3 separate regions of the Homo sapiens genome follow, and regions 2 and 3 are each linked to region 1. The links are contacts of gene promoters, found by promoter capture Hi-C in human tissues and cell types (Jung and others, 2019). All regions are on one chromosome and are shown on one strand. Each heading gives the region's core, a stretch centred on a gene start or on the middle of the fragment in contact. The rest is flanking DNA. Distances are from core to core; before and after follow the strand shown.

Region 1 (3,469 bases), core at 315-2,814:
GCAACAGGACGCCATCCAACACGTGGACTCAGCCCTTTATGCGTTGCAGGTTGGTTTTGTAAATGCCAGGTTGGTGCAGTTTGGACTTTAATATGTTGATTCTGGGGAGTCAGGGATGGTTTTCAGGAAGGTAGGTTTGAGAACCTCAGTCATTTGTATCTTTTGGGATGCAAACAATAACAACAACAGCACATATATATTTAGATAATTATTTTCATGTAGTTATTTCCTGGGTTTTTTTTGTTTTGTTTTGTTTTGTTTTATTTTGAGACGGAGTCTCGCTCTGTCACCCAGGCTGGAGTGCAGTGGCGCGATCTCGGCTCACTGCAAGCTCTGCCTCCCAGGTTCACGCCATTCTCCTGCCTCAGCCTCCCGAGTAGCTGGGACTACAGGCGCCCAACACCATGCCTGGCTAATTTTTTTTGTATTTTTGGTAGAGACGGGGTTTCACCATGTTAGCCAGGATGGTCTCGATTTCCTGACCTCGTGGTCCGCCCGCCGCGGCCTCCCAAAGTGTCATGTAGTTATTTCTATAATGCCTATTTGTTCAACAATTACACATTTAGTATTTGGTCTGACTCTCCCAACTGTGAGTGGTAAGTTGTCATAGTCCTCCTAATTTTACATATGAAGAAACAGAATCAGAGACAGTCAATAAAAATACCAGCTCACTTATAGAGAGTGCACATAGAATGTGCCAGGCAATGTTCAACATGTTTTGAACATGTTGTGAAGATTAAATAAATCTAATTTATTTAATAATAATAATTATAATTAATTATAATTACAATAATAATTAATAATAATCTAATTTATTTAATCTTCACAACAACCCGGTGAGGTTGGTATTATTATTATCCCTGTTTTATTGATGAAGGAACTTAGGCCCAGAGAGGGTTAGTAATTTTCTCTGGCCACACAGCTGGTGAATCATACAGAAGCAATTTGAAGTCAGGTAGATGGGTTCTAGAGCCCTACAGCCTCTTACTGACTTGCTCAACATCATGTAACTGGAAAGAGGCAAACATGGAATTCAAACCTTGGCCTGTCTGACTCCAAACCCTGAATTCTACTAAGTAATAATAGCTGACATATCTGAGCGCTGAACATAGGCCTGTTCTAAACATTTCCTTATATTAACGTGTTTAATTCTCACCACTTAGCAAGTAAGGAGAGTAAGGCACAGAAGTAAAGCAACTTGCCCATAGTCCAAAGCTGTTAGGTTGGTGCAAAAGTAATTGTGGTTTTTGCCATTAAAAGCAATGACAAAAACTGCAATTACTTTTGCACCAACCTAGTCAGTGGCAGAGAATGTACTTGAACCCAGGCTGTCTAGACCTAGATCCCACAGTCCTTGCCACCTCACTAATAGCCTGTCCACTTGGCAGCTTACCCTAAAGTTACAGAGGAATAAACACCATGCTGCTACAGATTTTTCATTATTCTGGTTGGTTTCCAGAGTGACAGGTAAGTTTTTGGTCTGTGCAAAGTCTGTTTCCAGTCACTAGTGGCTTTCTGTTTACTTTGCAGAGCTATTTGCTCTTGGGGACAGAAGCTGACAGTGGCACTCACAGCACAGGCTTGTTATGGGTCTAGCAGCCTCTGTGGCATCTCCTGTCACATTGGGAAAATGAAGAATTCCAGGACATGGGCTTGGAGGGCGCCGGTGGAGCTATTTCTTCTCTGTGCTGCCCTGGGCTGTCTCAGTTTGCCTGGCTCCAGGTAAGTGACAGTTACCAATAATTCCCTGATCAATAATATGACAGGGAAGGTGCAGCCACATGATGCTGACCATCTCTTTGTTGCATGCCTATTGAATGAGGAACGTCTCTTAAGGCAATTTGCATGCATCTGATAACATACTATCAACAACTCTTTTCAAATTATTGTGGAACCAAGTAGCTGATTTCAACAAAAGTTCCTGTAAGAAACTGACAGGTTTAAATGTATTTTGTCATGCTGAGAAGAATAGGATATTTTTTCTGTATTCTGAACAAAGCCTCCGTGTGATTCTTTATGAAAAAGAAAGTTTGTTACATACAGAGGACAAAAGAGCAAATTCATGAAATGATTTTAATAAATGAGATTGACCTACTCTACCTGCTCATCAACCCCAAATCTTCAGATTCTCAGGTTCTTTCCCACCCCCTTCTTACACACACACACACACACACACACACTCTCTCTCTCTCTCTCTCTCACCCCCCACAAGGTTCCCAGCAGTTAAATGCTGGCTGATTTATTTCATCATTGTTAGTCTCCATTAACAAGGTGCAAAACAAGCTAAAGAAAATATCCTAGTGGGAGCTCAAACTTGGGCTCCAGTGATAGAAGAGCCAGTGACGTAGCAATGTGGGGATGCTCCGTGTGCATGAGAAACCCCTGCCATGAGATGTTGAAGTGTGCATGTGTCCCCGGCCTCCATGTAAACACTCCTGTGGGAAGAGGGACTGTAATTCCATTCCTTTTACTTAGTCCAAAAATGAGATCTGAACAAACCTTTCACTTTATGTGAGGAGTACCTCCTACCCATGGGACACAGCCTCTGGTCTCAGTTCTGTTGAGCTGCCATTAGGAACCACAGGATGATGAGCATTCGTTCACTATCTATTGGCCACTCAATAAGTAACAGCTATTAGGATGATCAAGAAACTCCATTTAGCCCAGAGAATAACTAAGCTGCCAAGACCTTCCTTGTGTGTACTGTGTGTACACAGAGAAGCATTCAGGACCCAAGAAAATGTCTCCGGAATGGAGGACTTAAGGGAACCATAGCAACCCTATCTATAGCATTGTGCCCCTGGGTGGAGCTTTCTGTTGGGCTCTGAGGATACAGAGATGAGCCTATGTTCTCACAAAGAATGCCAACATGTGAGCATATGCTATGTGTACCGTTACAAAAGATGCTACGGGGCAGCCAGGAAACAAGGAGGGAATGATCAGCTCTACAGGGCATAGGGCCTGGAAAGGCTTCTAGAACAGAGAGTGTGAGGGCTGAATCTCTACAGGTGCGTGGGTGTTTGCCGAATGGCTAAGGGGTTGAAAGGTGTGCCAGGTAGAGGGAGCAGCACAGGCAACGGTGCGTGAGTGTGAGAGAGCTGGCTTGCTCCTGAAGCTTCCAGACACCTCAGTGGGCCTTGAACACAGGTCCCGGCAGGAAGTTGAGAGGGATGAGATAGAGTAGGAGTGAACAGGCATCATGTCATGGGCAGAGTTGGGGGATGCTGGAGTACCAGCTAAGGAACTTGAACTATATCCTCACCACAATGCATTGGGAAGCCATTGAAGAGTTGAAGCAAAGGAGTGACACGATCAAATATATATATTAGGAAGTTCACTCTGAGGTAGGGAGTGGAGGGGCAAATTGTTGATTAGAGTGCAGTCTGAGAAATTGTATTTAATTGTCACTACAACATCATGAGGTGGGTGTAATCTCTCCTTCTCGCTATGTAAGAGAACAAACTGATCC
Region 2 (3,469 bases), core at 267-2,766, 1.6 Mb before region 1:
GTTAGTCTCATCTAGTATGTTTTTCATCTTAGTTCTTACAGTTTTCTTGTCTAAAAGTTTAGGTCTTTTAAAGAAATATATTACATATCTCTACATAACATGCTCATATTTTCCTTTAGCTTCTTAAACATGTGCAGTATAGTTACAATAACTAATATCCTTATCTACTAATGCTGTTATTTGTTTATTTAGGAGTTAGTTTCCACTGATTGATATTTCTTCTAATTGTGGATCACATATCTTGCTGCTTGCATGCTTGGTGATTTTTAATTATAAATTGCACCTTGTTAAGTGTTAAATAGTTTTGTGTCCTAATACCTGTTTAGATTTTTTTTTTTTCCTGGGATGCAGTTGTTGCTTGGAAGCATTTAATCTTTTTGGGGGTTGCTTTTAATATTTGTTAGGTGGGGCCAGAGCAGCTTTCGGTCTCAGACTAATCTTTCTCTAATGTTGAGGCAAAACCCTTCTGAGTACTCTACCCACGAATGATAAGGTTTTCCACTTTGAATGGTGGGGAGGGGATAGGCAGTATACCATGCCCTGTGTGAGCCCTGTATATTATTCCCTGCAATCTTTTCAGGTGGCCCTTTCCCAGCTCCAGGGAATTTTCTTACACATATGCCCAGACAGGACTCAGCTGAATATGGGAGGGGGATTCTCTGCAGAACTCTAGAGTTATTTCTCTGTGCAGCTCTTGTCTTCTCTTGTCCTCTGTCCTGTGAGCTCTAGCAACCTTGGTTTACTTGACCTCCCAGCTTTATCTCTTCGATTTAGGGGAACCACTGGGCTCCACCTAGGTTTACCCTGTCTGCATTGTGGCCTGGAAGCACTCTCCAGGCAATAAGCTAGGACAGTTGTAGGGCTCTGTTTCCCATCTGTTAGGGATCACTGTTCTTCATTGCGTAATGTCCAGTGCATTTTATAAGTTAGATTTTACTATTCTGTATCACATGCTTCCTTCCAGTTATTGCAAACTGATAAAGTTTTACTGTTGTTTTTATCTAATCCACTTTATTGCTCAAATCATTTGCCATTAAAATACAAATGGCTCTTCCCTAACTAAAAATTAAAAATGAAATGAAAAAAATTCAAGCTTCTAAAGTAAACGTTGCATAGTAAATATCGTGGTATATATACTCTGGTTTATCTTGCTGAAAGGCGTTGCTCTAGGGGTGATGAGTTGAAACCCAAGGTAATTTAGCCTGAGATGTGTTAGAAGAACAACTGACACGCCTATTTAATAAGTGTTATAGTCCCAGTTTGGTAAGTAAATATTTTCCACAGATATTTATAGTTTTTTTTTTGTTTCAGGTAGTCAAGTGAAAAAATGAGCTTCATCTGTGGATTGCAGTCTGCTGCTAGAAACCATGTTTTCTTCCGATTTAATTCACTGTCTAACTGGAGAAAATGTAACACATTAGCATCCACCTCACGGGGCTGTCATCAAGTACAAGTTAACCATATAGTAAATAAGTATCAGGGACTGGGAGTAAATCAGTGTGACAGGTGGAGTTTTCTGCCTGGAAACTTTCATTTTTATAGTACTTTTAACAACAAAAGAACAGGAGGCCTCTCAAGTACCAAAAGTAAGGAAATTTGGAGGATTACCAGCAAATGTACTGTATGGAATGATGCTTTTTCAAGACAGCTGCTAATAAAAGAAGTTACAGCAGTCCCTAGTCTGTCAGTATTGCATCCTCTAAGCCCTGCTTCCATAAGAGCTATTAGGAATTTCCATACTTCTCCACGGTTTCAAGCTGCTCCGGTTCCTCTCTTGTTGATGATTCTTAAACCAGTACAGAAGTTATTTGCAATCATTGTAGGCAGGTAAAATGCTTTTTTAGAATAAAAACTTTTATATTAACTTTTTGCATTAATATTTTGTGCTAACGTATTAACTTTTAGAAATTAATTTTTTTATTTATAAAACTGTACTTTTAAAGAAACCTTGCCAGATCCCCTGTCTCCCCCCATTTAGCTCAAAGTGAAGTTTCTAAACAGTAGGTCCTGCCCAATTTTGTTCTGTATGATTTAATAATCTTGAAACAATTTCCTGCATACTAATTTATGGTATAGAAATATCTCTTTAAAAAGTTATTCTTACATTTTGTATAGGCATTAAAAAAATCTTATATTTATGACTACAAAATCTTAGGATATATGGATCAGAAGTGCTGGTTATCACTTATGTATAAGAAGAGTACTTACAAACATTTCTTTTTAATTTGTGGAATTTAAGGCAGCAAATCATAAAATTGAGGAACTTTGCTTATATAAGGGTGGGCTCACTCCTAGTTAACTCTTAAGTCATTAATGCTTCTTTTCTTTCTATTCTGTTCCCAACAAATCTTTGTTTTTTTCCTTGGTGATCCTTTATAATAATATTTTCACAGCTTGTAGTGCTTTAACCCTTTTTCTCTTGTTTGTTTTATGAAGATGGAAGAAAGCTAATCACTGTTTCTTCATAAAGCTTTCTTGTGTTTGATGACTGTGAAGTCCCTTCTAGCCTTCTTACTACCACATGAACCAAACCAGTTTGCTTTTGATCAAAAACCAAGAACTTCTATTTGTAACTTATTGTGTTTTTCATGATTTGGTGTTGGCACCCAAAAGCGATACAGCTGTATTGACTATTGGTTGAAGTAATACGCTCATCCCAGGTTCTTCGGATGCTCTTTCTGATTTCTGCTATGTCCTCATCCTTTTAAATTATTTATTTGTAACTTTCTTGTTTTTGTTACTATTGTTGATCACCTAAAATTTTTCATTTAGAATATGTCTTTCATACATTTTAAATAAAGGATAATGTCATGTAAAGTTTTAAATAGGAAATAAGTATACTCGATAGTTTGATTTATGTCCCTTTAAATGGACACACTTTGTGTAAAGGCATTGGGGTGTGTCACTTCACAAAGAGAACTTTAAGAATTTGTAAAATAAATTTTTGTCAAGAGAATGATGTATATATGGTAAATTTTTGTTGTGATTTTACAGATCAACTCATAAGGAAAATTTTTGTCCCAGTATTGAAAACATTGCTTGTTGTCAAAATGTTTCTGAACACTGCTAAGTGGCAGAGAGTATTGTTGCCTGGTAGAAATTGGACCTTCTCAGATGTTATCTATAAAATCTCCCACTTTCTTATGAATACCTAGGATCTTGTTATCTCTCCTTTTTCACGTTGTAAAGAGGATAGTGGAGTTTCTGCTACTGAGCACTATTTATTTCCAAAATGAATGCTGAGGCAGTTTCCCTTGTACCTTGTGGAATCACTGGCAAATTGTGTTGGAGGTCTGAGGAGCAGTGGGAAAAGTAGTGGTTCCAGGTATAGATTTATTGTACTGTAACCTCTTACATAATTATTTAGGCATTTATCCCTATTAAGTGGCTAAGTGGTCAGACTCTGGAATGTCATTGCCTTCATTGCTTGGTTTTCCTTTTATTACCTCAGTGGCCATGGACAAGTTAC
Region 3 (3,469 bases), core at 519-3,018, 1.5 Mb before region 1:
GGGTGTGACCACGTATTTTCTTTCCTGAGAAAGGAGAAAAGCGCTTTACTGTCACAAACTGAGTGTGGAGAATTGTTTTGTCTGTGAACAGGCGGAACTGATGAAATCTCAGAAAGGCCTAGAGCAGAGGGGACAAGGCAGCCGCCTCTCAATCAAGCCCTGGGTGAGGAGGGAGGGTCCCCAGGTGGTGGGGAGCAGGAGGAGGCTGATGCTACTTAGAAAGCAAGGAGGTGTGGCCCTCGGACGTGGGTTCCTTTCCTTGCCTCCTTGAGTGCCCTTCACAGACACGCCCCTGCACCCGCCCCTAGCCTGCCCTGACATCCGTCGACAAAGCTTTTCTGTGTTGCTGTGGCCGTCTCTTGCTCAAGGTGAACTCTGAGTTTGGGTCGACTCCTGCAAGCGTCTGGCTCTAGGAGGCCTCCTGACCTCACCCACCCAGGGCCTTCTCTTGCTCTGGCCCACCTGAATGGGTCTGAAGATGAGGCTTCACTGGCTGCCCCCAAACTGCAGTTGCTCCTGCAGCTGGACGTGTAGTCTTGACTTTGCATCCCAGGGAGAGCTGTGTGTTTGTAGCCTGCCATTTCTGTGAGTTAATTCCAGAGGCAATTATTGTATTGCCTGCTCTTGCCACAGCCCCTCGATGGAGCAGCTCATAGGCCATTTGATCCCGTTCTTTATCCAATTGCTAATTGGGCCAGAGGTGAATGCCCAGTCGAAGCCCAGAATTGTGTAGCAGATTTAAAAAGTTGGGCTGAGCCAATTGATATTTCTCTCCAAGATTTGGTATCGAAAACTTAAAGAGACTGCTGCTAGTGTGTAGCACGGAGGTGATGTGGAGCTGGAAGACTTGGGGGCCTTGTACAAGCTGATGTGCAAGCAGGAGAAAGCAGGTGTGAGGGAGAGCCAGGGCTTGGAGCAGACCCATGGGGAAAAGGAGAGGCTGGGCAGGCCTGGGAGCTAGAGGTCAGGTCTCCATTCCTGAGTCCTGACTCTCCTCAGTTTTCTCTCACAGGTTCTGTGAGATCTTTGTGAAGTCCTACAATCAATAAATGCCTTCTACTAAAGCTAGTGCAAGGTGGGGGAGGTTTTCCTCCATACAGCCAAGAATCTTGGTGGAAACAGAACCCGAGGTAGCTGCAGCCCTTGGAGAGCACCTGAGGGCAGTGAGAAGTGTTTCTGCAGAGGCAAGGATGGCATCCCCAGCGCATCAAGGAGGTTGACTCCAGAGGGGCTTATTTCACAAAGCCTTTGCAGCACGCCTCGGGTCACGGGCCACCTGGGCCAGTGAGATTCAAAAGGAGAGGAATTTCGAGAGGCAGGATTCCAGTAATTAGTTGAGATTGCTACAGATAGGCTGACAGGAGTGAAGGAGATCCTTTCAGGTTGGGACAGTGTGAGCAAAGACTCGCGAGTAGGAATATAGCCATTCACCATTGTTATTATTGCTGTTCTCAATTATAATTATTATATGAGCTTACATGCAGTCAAGTCGACTTCCTTTCCCTGGGTAAACATGTATAGATTAGTGACACTACCATCACCTTCAGGACACAGAGGAGCCTGTCACCCCCAAAACTCCCTGTGCCCCTTTGCTTTGAGTGCTTCACACTCCCCCACCTCTACCCCCCGGTGATCACTAGTTCTCTCTCACTAGTGTTTTACCTTTTCCGGAAGGTCATATAAATGGAATCATGCACGGTATCTTTTGAGATGGTCTTTTCACTCAGCACGATGCCTTTGAGATTCATCCATGTTGTTTGTTGTTGTTTTTAATTGCTAAGTAGTATCCCATCGTATGGATAAACTGCAATGTGTTTATCCACGCCGCATTGTTTCCAGTGTTTGGTAATTATGAAAAGAGAAGTTATACCATTTATGTACAGGATTTTGTGTGAATATACTTTTTCATTTTTTCACTTTAATTACCTAGGAATGGGACTGCTGAGCTGTATGGCAAGTGTAGGTTTAGCTTTGTTTTTTTTTTGTTTTGTTTTTTGTTTTTTGTTTTTTTGAGATGGAGTCTCTCTCTGTCGCCCAGGCTGGAGTACAGTTGCTTAATCGTGGCTCACCGCAACCTCCACCTCCCGGGTTCAAGTGATTCTCCCGCGTCAGCCTCTGAGTAGCTGGGAGTAGTACAGGCACCCACCATCATGCCCAGCTAATTTTTTTTTTTTTTTTTTTTTGGTATTTTTGTAGAGATGGGGTTTCACCACGTTGGCCAGGCTGGTCTTGAACTCCTGACCTCAGGTGATCCGCCTGCCTTGGCCTCCCAAAGTGCTGGGATTACAGGCGTGAGCCACTGCGCCTGGTTTAGCTTTGTATGAAACTGTAGACTTTTTTGCAGAGTGGCTCTGTGATGTTGCATTTCCACCAGCAGTGAATGAAAGTTCCAGTTGGCCCACATCATCGTGAACATGTGGCTTTGTCTTCTTTTTTTTTTAGCCATTTTCATAGGGTTATAATGGTATCTCTATCTCATTGTGATTTTAATTTGCATTTTCCTAGGGGCTGATAATGTTTAACATCTTTTATGTGCATATGTGCCATATGAATAATTTCTTTGGTAAAGTGTCTCTTTTTTTGCCCTTTAAAAAAAAAGGATGCAGGCCAGGTGCAGTGGCTCACGCCTGTAATCCTAGCACTTTGGAAGGCCAAGGTGGGTGGATCATCTGAGGTCAGGAGTTCGAGACCAGCCTGACCAACGTGGCGAAACCCCCCTCTCAACTAAAAACACAAAAATTGGCCTGACGTGTTGGCTCGCACCTGTAATCCCAGCCACTCAGGAGGCTAAGGCAAGAGAATCGCTTGAACCCAGGGGGCGGGGCGGTGGGGCACAAAGGTTGCAGTGAGCGGAGATCGTGCCATTGCACTCCAGTCTGGGCAACAAGAGTGAAACTCCGTCAAAAAAAAAAAAAAAAGGAAAGAAAAAAAGTGGATGCTTTGCTTCTTACTGTTGAGATTTGAGACTTCTTTATATTTTTCTGAATATAAGTCTTACACTGAGTATGTGAGCTGCAAATATTTTCTTCCAGTCTTAACTTGTCGTTTGTTTTCTATTGCTCCATTTATCATTAACTGTGTTTCCCTCTGTTTATCTTTGGTATTTTTTTCTATCCTGATGTTTACTAAAGCCCGTCTAGCTTTCTTATGATCAGTATTTGTATAGTATGTCTTTTCTTGTCCTTTATCTTTTAAAATATACTTTTTATTTTGGAATAACTTTATGTATTCAGGGCGTTCTCATGTATCCTTCACCCATTTTCCCCTGATGTTCACATCTTACATTATCATGATATGTTGTCAACACTAAGAAATTAATACTGGCACAATACTATTAACCAAATTACAGACTTTAATTTGGATCCACCCATTTCTTCACTAAAGACTTTTTTCTCCTCTAGGATCCAATTCAGGATTTCTTATTACATTTAGTTATCATGTGTCAGGGATGGGCTCAGTGGCTCACGCC

What was found. The method cuts DNA at HindIII sites, captures the fragments that hold promoters and counts their contacts. A contact is called where the count stands out against the background at its distance.
Region 2: a contact is called between a fragment that was not itself captured here and the fragment with the promoter of C8B in region 1, in 1 of the 25 tissues and cell types used here (hippocampus).
Region 3: a contact is called between a fragment that was not itself captured here and the fragment with the promoter of C8B in region 1, in 1 of the 25 tissues and cell types used here (IMR-90 fibroblasts).

The regions. Positions count from the first base shown.
Region 1 is chr1:56,964,110-56,967,578 of GRCh38, reverse strand. C8B (complement C8 beta chain) reads left to right here and starts at 1,564. Exons shown (of 12, transcript NM_000066.4): 1 at 1,564-1,722. The coding sequence starts at 1,631. The region is part of intron 1 of LOC112267900 (a long non-coding RNA gene); the gene reads right to left. The HindIII fragment of the contact is 9,311 bases long and covers 1-3,469 here.
Region 2 is chr1:58,537,153-58,540,621 of GRCh38, reverse strand. OMA1 (OMA1 zinc metallopeptidase) reads left to right here. Exons shown (of 9, transcript NM_145243.5): 2 at 1,312-1,827. The coding sequence starts at 1,328. It also overlaps a transcript of DAB1 not described here. Among named protein-coding and RNA genes, the nearest start is that of OMA1, 7.8 kb to the left of the region's middle. The HindIII fragment of the contact is 4,039 bases long and covers 1-3,469 here.
Region 3 is chr1:58,451,370-58,454,838 of GRCh38, reverse strand. It overlaps a transcript of DAB1 not described here. Among named protein-coding and RNA genes, the nearest start is that of OMA1, 94 kb to the left of the region's middle. The HindIII fragment of the contact is 5,428 bases long and covers 1-3,469 here.